Regions from separate parts of the Homo sapiens genome. Here all the other regions are linked to region 2. The links are contacts of gene promoters, found by promoter capture Hi-C in human tissues and cell types (Jung and others, 2019). All regions are on one chromosome and are shown on one strand. Each heading gives the region's core, a stretch centred on a gene start or on the middle of the fragment in contact. The rest is flanking DNA. Distances are from core to core; before and after follow the strand shown.

The links. The method cuts DNA at HindIII sites, captures the fragments that hold promoters and counts their contacts. A contact is called where the count stands out against the background at its distance.
Region 1: a contact is called between a fragment that was not itself captured here and the fragment with the promoter of MRPS31 in region 2, in 2 of the 25 tissues and cell types used here (H1 embryonic stem cells and dorsolateral prefrontal cortex).
Region 3: a contact is called between a fragment that was not itself captured here and the fragment with the promoter of MRPS31 in region 2, in 1 of the 25 tissues and cell types used here (mesendoderm cells).

What each region holds. Positions count from the first base shown.
Region 1 is chr13:40,178,222-40,181,930 of GRCh38, forward strand. All of the region lies in intron 1 of LOC124903162, which reads right to left. LINC00332 (long intergenic non-protein coding RNA 332) reads left to right here and starts at 3,588. Exons shown (of 4, transcript NR_046870.1): 1 at 3,588-3,641. The HindIII fragment of the contact is 5,128 bases long and covers 1-3,709 here.
Region 2 is chr13:40,769,742-40,773,168 of GRCh38, forward strand. MRPS31 (mitochondrial ribosomal protein S31) reads right to left here and starts at 1,449. Exons shown (of 7, transcript NM_005830.4): 1 at 1,244-1,449. The coding sequence starts at 1,395. RefSeq lists an enhancer at 1,338-1,507. The HindIII fragment of the contact is 6,562 bases long and covers 1-3,427 here.
Region 3 is chr13:40,201,561-40,204,977 of GRCh38, forward strand. All of the region lies in intron 1 of LOC124903162, which reads right to left. LINC00548 (long intergenic non-protein coding RNA 548) reads right to left here. Exons shown (of 6, transcript NR_033877.1): 3 at 2,768-2,958. Among named protein-coding and RNA genes, the nearest start is that of LINC00548, 17 kb to the right of the region's middle. The HindIII fragment of the contact is 4,294 bases long and covers 1-3,417 here.

The DNA.
Region 1 (3,709 bases), core at 1,092-3,591, 590 kb before region 2:
TCTTTATGCCTCATCAGGAGTTTCAAGTGTCTCTGGAATGGCCTGGCGGCTCGTTTCCTGCTGGCTGCGGTGTCGCTTTTGTTTACTTCATAGCTGGAACAACTTGGTGGGTGCAGGGAGAGCCACACAGGCACACCCTACAGCATGTCATACACATTGCTACTTGACAGGAAGGAAGATGCACAAGGATTCTGGCACAAGGCCTCGTATGTGCTTCATTCTTTCTCTGTCTCTTGGTCAAATTGGCCCAATCAGACTCTAAATGAAGAATTTTTCTCCCATGAATGCAGAGAGGGTCTCCCCTTCCCCTGCCCTAGGAAAGTGAGCAAGGAAGCGTGCAGCCCTGACCTTTTCTGGGAGTCATCATACGGCCTAGAGGAGAACAAGCTTGAGAATGAAAACACTGCCAAGGACATCAGAGCAGAACGACAGAAAGAACCTGGGTCCTTGTGAACAGAGTCATGGAATGATCTAGTCCTTAAGTGCACTCTGGTTCTTGCTGTGAGAGGTGATCCACCTCTTTCTTGTTTGTCATCATCTCACTTAGAGACAGAGCATCCTAACTGATTATTTATCCATCTTAGCTGAACTTAGGGCCCCATGAAGGAGGCACCACCCCTCTCTCTCCAGGAGGCTAAGTAATCCACTAACAGTTTCATTCACCTTAAACTCCTTCCCAAAATACCCTCCTAGCTACTGGAACAATCAAGACAGAGTTTTTAGACAGAGTTTTGCTCTTGTTGCCCAGGCTGGAGTGCAACGGTGTGATCTCGGCTCACTGCAACCTCTGCCTCCCACATTCAAGCAATTCTTCTGCATCAGCCTCCTGAGTAGCTGGGATTACAGGCGCCTGCCACCATGCCCGGCTAATTTTTTGTATTTTTAGTAGAGACAGGGTTTCACCACGTTAGCCAGGCTGGTCTTGAACTCCTGACCTCAGGTGATCCATCTGCCTCGGCCTCTCAAAGTGCTGAAAGGTTGGAGATTTTATACTCCAACTCAAGACCTTCACCAAGGCCTCCTGGGTCCACTGCCACTCTGTTTCCTTCTTTTTCTCTGTCCTCTCCCTTCTGGAGTTCACCAGTCAAACCTCTTTCTCACTCTCTACTCCTCAGCCCACACCCATCCCTGCCAGGGCTTTGTGGCCTTACTTGTACAATTTACCCACCACGGCCTCAGGTACAAGGGTTTATGACGTTTGTAACAAGTACTTGCTAATCTCTCAGAAGCCACTGGGTATATAGAATCCTGCAGTTTATCTGGATGATCAAACTATTTCATTTTTTATTCTTCTTAGTTGGCATCAGTGCCTTAGAATAGAATTTAGATGTGTGCTTTGCCTAAAAGGAAAGAGCTGACAGAGCTTGCAACTGGCAATGCATCAGTTCCACCTCAAGGAAATCAACAGGGAGAAGCTAATGAGACGGAACAGTTCTCATATTAACCAGTTAGCTATTCAGCTTAGGACAGATGTGGAAAATAAGCCCATATGAGACAAATTCATTAAAGTGAAATTATCCGTTCAACACCTTGATATCTGAGCAGACTGATGTTTCAAAATTATTATAATTATGATCATGGGGATAAAGAGAGCCAAACTTTCGAAAGAAGACTTGAAAAAAAATTAAAAATTCTAGTACTACCCTGTGAGATGAAAATAATGAGCTGGTCACAGATCCCCAGGATATCAGCAATTGCTCTAAATCCTTCTTGATGAGGAATCTGTGACTCCAAAGTCAACATTAATTCAAATGCAAATAATATCTCTTCCCCCTGAGAATCATTATTCCTGATTCAGCAGGCAATTTAATGGGAAATCTGCAGGTGCACTGCAGACTTTGAACCAGAGAAGTTGTTCCAGCTCCAGATGAAGCTTTGACTCCTGAACACATGGAATCTGACAGTCAGAGCCCAGAGATTTTAATTCTCTCACTGCCTCTGAGATGGTAGTTCCTGGGTAAAGCATATGGAACTCAGTAGGGCATAGATCTGGTACCTGCAGCCTGGAAAATATCACAAATCTCTGTCTGCTTCTCTCAAACACACACCCCCTTCTTCAGTAGCTGTTAACCACCTCGACCCTTTGCATGGAAGTTCTTCTTAAATACCACCTGCAGAAGACAGTCAGCCTCCAGCCTTGTCATCTTGAGGTGACCCACAGAGGAGAAAAGGCTGGAAGCCTCTAGAATTATCTGGCTCAGGTTGGACTGTCTGATGCTGGGAAAATTACATGGCCATTCTGTGCCTCAGTTTCTCCATCAGCAAAATAAGGAAATGAATAACATCTGCCTTGTAGGACTGTGGTGTGGTTTAAGAGCTATAACAAACTTTTCATAGGCAAGATAACAGAAGGGTTAACAGTATGAACTCTGAAACCAGACTTTCCTGGTCCAAATCTGAGCTCTGCAGCTTGCTTATTAATAACCTTGGCAAAACAACCTTTTTTTTTTAACATCGGTTACCCCATGTAAAATGGGGGTGATAATATTAACAACCTGAGTTGTTATAAAAATTAACATTTTAAAATAATTTAGACCAGTGTCTGGCTTATATACCAAAGACTGTGTAATCACTTATGGTACAAGCAGTGCTTGGGCCATAGTGAGAGCTCAGTAAATGTTATATATTAGTATAAGAATTGTTAGTATTTCCATGAGTAGTCATAACACCATAGAAGAAACAGGGAATAATATTTCCAAAGACAGAATAGAAAGAGGCAAGGTATTTTCAGTTAGAAGAAATTGCCCTCTCAGCAATTTCTTTTTACCAGGTTTTATATGTGTAATAGTCTTTTCAGGATTCTATAACAACATACTATAGACTGGCTGGCTTAAACAACAGAAATTCATTTGTTCACAGGTCTGGAGACTGGCGGTCCAAGATCAGGGTGCCAGCATGGTTGGATTCTAGTGCAGACTCCCTCCTGACTTGAAGACTATACCTTCTCATTGTGTCTTCACATGGCAGAAAGAGAGAAAGAGAGCTCTCTCTGCCTCTTCCTGTAAGACCATAGTCTTATTGGATTAGAGGCCCATTCTTATGACCTCATTTAAGCTTTATTATCTCCTGAAGGCCCCATCTCCAGATATAGTCACACTGGGGCTTAAGACTTCAACATACCAATTTTGGGAGATATGATTCAGTCTATCACGTCGATCACATTCAGTCTAACATCACAATAAAAGGCCCTGTGATGCTTTGGCATACCCTGGTGACTCAGGGATGGCCAACTAGAAATATAACAGGTACCCAAATGCCATTCTCACTGAGAAGTCTGGAAACATATTTCTGAGAAAAGCAGAAGAGAGAGAGTTTAGCCAAGGTGGGAAGCTACTACATGTGGTGAGGCCATGTGTGGCAAGCATGCGTCTAACTAGCCATGGACACATGAAGTCCTTCAGTGCTTAACAATGCTGAGTCATATATTAGATTATGTTCCAGAATCCTACACCCACAGCATGTGAGGCAGATAAGCTGTACTTACCCAAGAAATGTAAACACCACAATAGTCCTTGGTTGTCAATCTGGTAGGGTCACGAAGACCTGCCTGGTATCAGTGTTTTTTAAAGCAACAGCTGAAAAAGTGACACCTAACTAGTCAAAGAACAGAGTTACAAGAGACATGCTGATTCAACGAATGGGTAATTATATATATTTGTTTTATTTGCTAAATCTATCCCTAAAATTTGTGTGCAGAAAAAAAAAAGGA
Region 2 (3,427 bases), core at 199-2,698:
TAATCTTTACTACAATGTTTTCTTTCAAGACTGCTATCATACCACAGAAAACAATCTACATTATAGGAAAATCACGTCTAAGTAACTCCCTAGCACTAAAAATAATAAACCTCTCGACCTAACCTCCCACCTGAGTTTGTTTCCACTGACAGCAGCTCATCAGTACTTCAAATGCAACACCTTCAACACCACATTCAAGACTCCTCTTTCAGACTGACTTTCCATTTTTCACACTTTCTATATTAAAAGGCCCCCTAACATAAACAGGTATTTGTTGTTTTCTAAAAATTATAATATATGGAAAAATCTTTCTCAAGCCTGGCTCCGCATTCTTCTGTTAACATTAAGGATACCCTAATACTCCAACGCAGCCAGTTGAAATTTTTGCTATCTCTGACTACCCTACCATTATCCCATGACGTCACATCCCTTTAATTCTACCTGTGCAATTTTTCTCCTCCATTCAGCTGGTCCTTCCCATCTTCACTGCTACTAACCTGCTTCAGCACTGTACTTAACCAAACTGCCTTCTGAGTGTTACGCATGGAATTTATGCAGCGGAATTAGGTTTTCATAATAAAGTTCTCGGAGGATAAATACCAAAACCAAGTATGCCACAATTCCCTTTTTTCCTGGCTAACTTCAACCAGTGGTCCTCCTTCAGATTTCGTCAGACTTTTCCAGAAACGATATCCTGAGTCTCCCCTATAATGGTTAGGTGTCCCTATTTGCTATCCCAGCAAGTACTCATTCATGTTGGCTGAATAGTGTACTCTGTTTACCTACACTATCTCAGCTATTACTTCACTACATAGCACTTGAATTGTCTACTTTCTGGAACTACACGCTCCGTGATGGCAGGACTGTCTCACTTGGGGTTTACAACCAGTACTGGCACGCTGTTTTTCGAGTTTTTCAGTAATGAACTAAAGAATAAATGAAGGAAAACAAATGAGACTATCAAATAAATCTTGGGAGGCAAAAGATAAAAACCTGGGTAAACTGACAGGAGATGATGACAAGAGGAATGAGGCGCGGCGTGTAGTAGAGCACAGCGACCAGGTTTGTAATCGTAGCTCTGTTTTCACGCACACTATGACCTTGGGCAAGTCATCTTTTCTTTCTGGGATTTCTCTTTCCTCAGATTTAAAGCAATAGCTTCTAAGACCCAGCAGGTGGTAACATCGACCCCAGGAAGTCGGAGGATGTACAGGACGGGGCACGGGGTTGCCTGAGGACCTACCGGGCCAACAGCGCTGAACTGCGGTACCTGACTGTTCCGTGCCGAACAGTGAGTAGCATAATCGCAGCCGCTGATGTCTCCGGGCTTCCAGAGGACAAAGGGTGGCGGGAAAGGGGGCGAAGAGGTAGGAACGTCGAGACTCTAGGAAACATCGCCGAGACACGAAATGAACCAAGAACACAACTGAAATGGTGCGTCCCGCTGCCAAACACGTCCCCGCCCTCTCTTCCGCTTCCGGCCTGGCGCCTTCCTCCCCCTTTGCGCTCCGGTGGGCTACAGGGGCGGGTAACTGTGTTCCGGACTCGCCCGCGGCCGGGCGGAGCCAGTTGCCTCCAAGCGACCCGACCCACCCCGCGATTGTAGTCCTAGAGGCGGAGTCCTCGCCAGAGTTCAGCAAAGGTTCGCTGGCCGAGGCGGGTCCCAGACCGGCGAACCCGACAGTGGAGGGCGTGACCAGTTGTGCAAAAACTACAGATGGTGCCAGTGAGATCAGTCTCTTCTTTAACAGACAATATTTTGCGATGTTTGGAGGGGAAGGGTCTACAGCGTTCACCACGTTCTCAAAATGCGCCATGGCCACCAAAGAGGTTTAAAAAAAATTACTAAAAGACCTGCTGCCCTATGAATTAGCGTTTCCTTTCAGTCTTTATTTTTGATGTAGAGTCAAAATGAGACATAGGTTTCATTTTTCAAAAATAGCTTTATGGCCGGGCACGGTGGCTCACGCCTGTAATCCCAGCACTTTGGGAGGCCGAGGCGGGTGGGTCACTTGAGGTCACGGGTGCGAGACCAGCCTGGCCAACATGGTGAAACCCCATCTCTACTAAAAAAAAAAAAAAAAAAAAAAAATACAAACACACACACACACACACACACACAATTAGCCGGCCGTGGTGGCGGGCGCCTGTAATCCCAGCTACTGGGGAGGCTGAGGCAGGAGAAGCGCTTGAACTCGGGAGGTGGGGGCTGCAGTGAGCCGAGATCGCGCCATTGCACTCCAGCTTGGGCTACAGGGCGAGATTCTTTGTCTCAAAAAAACAAAAAAGAAAAGAAAAAAAGATTTACGCCGGGGGCACAGTGGCTCATACCTGTAATCCCAGTACTTACGGAAGCCGAGGCGGGCAGATCACTTGAGGCCAGGGGTGAAGACCAGCCTGGTCAACATAGTGAAACCCTGACTCTACTAAAAATGCAAAAATTAACCTGGCGTGGTGGCGAGTGCCTATAATCCCAGCTACTCGGGAGGCTGAGGCAGGAGAATAGCTTGAACCCGGGAGGCGGAAGCTGCAGTGAGCCAAGATTGTGCCACTGCACTCCAGCCTGGGCAACAGAGTGAGACCCCGTCTCAAAAAAAAAAAAGGATGAAAAGATGCAAGAGAGAGACTTGGCTTTTACCTGTCCCTCATGAAACAGGGAACTGTGACCCCAGAAGAGATGTGGGGTTCCCAAACTTGGAAGGGGATGAGAATAAATCTGGTGGGAAATGTTGGCTAATAGGACACATGGGAACCACTAGCCTAAAATTCCATAAAGGCATTCCAAAGTTTACATCAACATTTTCCCTGTCCTCTCAAAAAATAATCAAGGTGGGGAGGTGAGTTTTTGTGATACTAAAACACAGCTTACATTGAGCAGATCTTCCTGAGATCCACTAACACTAACAGAACCTTTGTGACTGAATGCTCTACACAGTACACTTGGGGATGCTTACTTTGTCTGATTTGTAAAAAAACAAACAAAAATTAAAGCATAACTTTGTCAAAAAACAAAATTATGGCAAATTTAGCATAATTGGTTTTTATTTGTGATTCTAGAATAGTGTTCCAGTGAGTTGAGCAGAGGGGTTTGGCTTTACAAGCACAAAAGAGTTGAAGAAAATAGAAACAGGGAACAAAAATCAGATTGGTCATTTCAAAGTTACCTTCCTTATAGGGTTAAAACAGAGGGATTCCTTGTCATGCTGGCTCAGGTAAACTAGGGCCCCTCTGATTGGTGCTGTGAATCTCCTGCTTTTGGAAAACTGGCCCTGATTTCAAAGTTCAGTTTGATTACTTGGCACTTAGCACAAGTGACTATTCTGGTTTGCTCTGGTGTGCTGGGGGCTAGTACAGGAAGCTTGTCCAAAACTACGGCCTCCTATAAACTTTAGCAACTTCAATACAGAAAAGTGTATGAATTATAAAT
Region 3 (3,417 bases), core at 706-3,205, 570 kb before region 2:
AATAGTGTGAACAGGATAACCACTTACAGAATACACCTATGCATTTCATTTATTTTGTTTAATCAGGATGTGAGTAAATTATACATTTTTTTCCTCCCTGACATGTCATGCACTTAGCACTATATAGAATTAAACTTTAAGCTAAAGGGTGACATCATTTCTTTTTTTTTTTCTTTTTTTTTTTTTTTTTTTTTGAGACAGAGTCTTGCTCTCTTGCCCAGGCTAGGGTACAGTGGCACCATCTCGGGTCACTGCAACCGCCACCTCCCGGGTTCAAGTGATTCTCCTGCTTCAGCCTCCCGAGTCACTGGGATTTCAGTTGCCTGCCACCACACCCAGCTAATTTTTGTATTTTTAGTACAGACGGGATTTCACCATGTTGGCCAGGCTGGTCTTGAACCCTTGACCTCAGGTGATCCACCCACTTTGGCCTCCCAAAGTTCTGGGATTACAGGCATGAGCCACTGCACCCGGCCCAAGGGTGACATCATTTCTTATCACTCTAATATCCCTTGCCTATGATAATAAATTATCTGCCTCAAACAAGATAGGTGTGCACTTGTTCACACGGAAAGGTAGGCAGGGAGAGGCTAGAAAGAGGACAGAAAATCACAGGAAAGATGGAGACTTAGATGTTGTTTTTCACTTCGGCTGCACCAATATCTATTTTATGGCTATTTTCTTTCAACTATTCAGTACAGTGAAATAGATGTAAGATCCATTCAAAATTGAATTCAGCAAACTTAATTAACCATCTACTACTATAATATGCCAAATTCTATTAATTAAAATAGCAAACATAAATATTTTATATTTATGTATCTAGATAACTGGAAAATAATACAAAAAATCGTATGAGACAGAAAAAGTATATACTAGAAAAGTATATACTATATACTAAAAAGCATATACTATATATGAAGGACTATGATAGCAGAGAGGGATTAATTTAGGCTAAAGAGAATCAGGAAAGCTTTCTCAGAGTATGTGATTTTCTTTGACGAGGGCCCAAAAGGAGCTGAGAATTGGGTAGGCAGAGATGGATGGGAAAGGGATTTCCATGAAGAGGAACAGTGGCATGAGGGCAGGCATGGGTGTGGCAAAGAGCAATGACCTCTACAGAGACATGAATTATAGCACATTGTGCAGTGAGTCTGTTATTCACGACAAACAGGCTTTGTTAAGGATGGAAAATGAATACCTATTATGAGACGTACTTTTGTGTCTTCTTTTTAGTCACGTTAACTGATGTATAATTTACATACGGTAACATTTCCCCTAATATACTTATTTTAACATCTAGCATAGGGCCCCAATGTCTAACTGAAAACTTTGCACATTGCAAATATTCAACATATATTAACTAGGGGGATGAATGGTTTGCCATCAACATGGTATTATTTGATGTTATAAACTGACTCTTTTTTCCACAAGATCTGTTGGTAAGCCATTAAATTGACATGGTAAATAATATTAATGTTTATCTTGATAGTTGTCTGACTTTCAAAGGTCCCTTGACTGACCTCACTATCTATCTCTTCATTTATAAATGCCTGCAGGTATGTCAACTCTCTCTCCAGAGTGTCTCAGGACATTTGGTTTGAAAATAGTTGATATGATTTGGATATTTGTCCTCTCCAAATTTCATGTGAAATGTGATCCACCAAGGTTGGAGATGAGGCCTGGTGGGAGGTTGTTTTTATCATGGGCGTGGATCCTTCATTAATGGCTTGGCACATCCCTTACGGTAATGAGTTCTTGCTCTGTTAGTCCATGAAAGATCTGACTGTTAAGAAAAGCCTGACAGCTCCTCCTTTTCTCTTACTTCCTCTCTTGCCATGTGACATGCCAGCTCCCCTTGTCTCCCACCCTGAGTAAAAACTTCCCAAGGTCCTGACCAGAAGCAGATGTGAACACCATGCTTCCCGGGCAGCCTGCAGAACCGTAAACCAGATAAACCTCTTTTCCCTATAAGTTACCCAGCCTCAGGTATTCCTTTACAGCAAAGCAAAATGGACAAACACAATAGCCATAGAAAATCCTGAACAACATGTAAGACAGGTTATTTTATTTATTTCTCACTTTGTGATGAATAGACATTTTCTAACTAGTACTTTCCTTGAGGAAGAGATAGGATTTCATAGGGAGACTATATTATATTAAGGCAAAAAGACAGCAGTCACATTTTATTGCCCAAAGCCCACTTTCATTCACATTCTCTCCACTTATGGGCACACATACAAAGCAGGCATTATGTGCCCAGTTTGATAGATAAGGAAAAGAACTTTGAAGGCTGAAGTGACTTATTCAAGGTCACACACACAAACATATGGGCAGCAGAGACAGGACTAGAACTCAAGTCCTTACAGTGCTCTTGAGATGAAGTTATTAGCAACAGTCACAAAACACTTTTTAATTGAGGTAAAAAAGAGTTGAAATCACCTTTTTTATGCTGCCTTTGATAAATCTATCTGTCAGAACTCAGTGGTGGAAAACAGAAATGATTTTAGCTATTTTAAACTGAAAGGGATTTAGTACAGGAAATTCAGTGTTCATACAACTATTGGACGGGCTGGAAGGGTAGGCTAAAGGTTGGATCCAGGAATGCCTTCCAGTACGACACTGTGAACCAGCCTTCAAGGCAGCTGCTCCCTCTACCCCAGTTAGAAGGTGGGGTGCCACAGGAATGGTTGACTTCCAGAACACAACCTGGAGCTGTGAGATACAGAAACTACCAACATGCTGCTACAATTGCTTCTCTACTCACATGAAGCTTGTGGCTATACAGTAGAATTTGGCTGCAGGAAAGCACAGCATCTTCAAGACCTTGCATGCCAGCAAAAGTAGTCAAAGCTGCAGAACTCTGCCCTTTTGTCACATTTCCTCTTTTCAAATCTTGCATAGGCACATCTAATTGTGGAAACTTCTTCGCTTCCATGACTCTAGCTGCAAGGGATTCTGGGAGATACAGAGTTGGAATAAATGCCAAATGCCAATCTACTATACCTACAACCCAGAAATTTGGAAATATCAACAGTGTCTCCCAAGACAGATTAGAAATGGGATTCTTGGTCTGTGCTTTAAATGCAGACATCACAGGCAATCTGCATTCAGGTGCCACATGTGGTTGCACAGGTTGTGCATTCCTTAGAATATGAAAGGAATGAACTCCTCAGGTTGAGCACTAGTCACAGAGACTATGGATAGAGTGGCCAACCCTGAAGCTACTCAATGAATAATCTATGCCAGTCTTCTCAAGAGCTGTCTCCATCAAAGCAGGTCTTGGTTATAGCTTTGATATGGAAAGAAAGCCATATATATGACTAGATTAAGGAGCTACTTAGAAATGGACACATTGTGGAGGATCCACCACCCAAGGTGCTAAGGCCATGACCACAGGAGGAAGGTCGAGTGGAA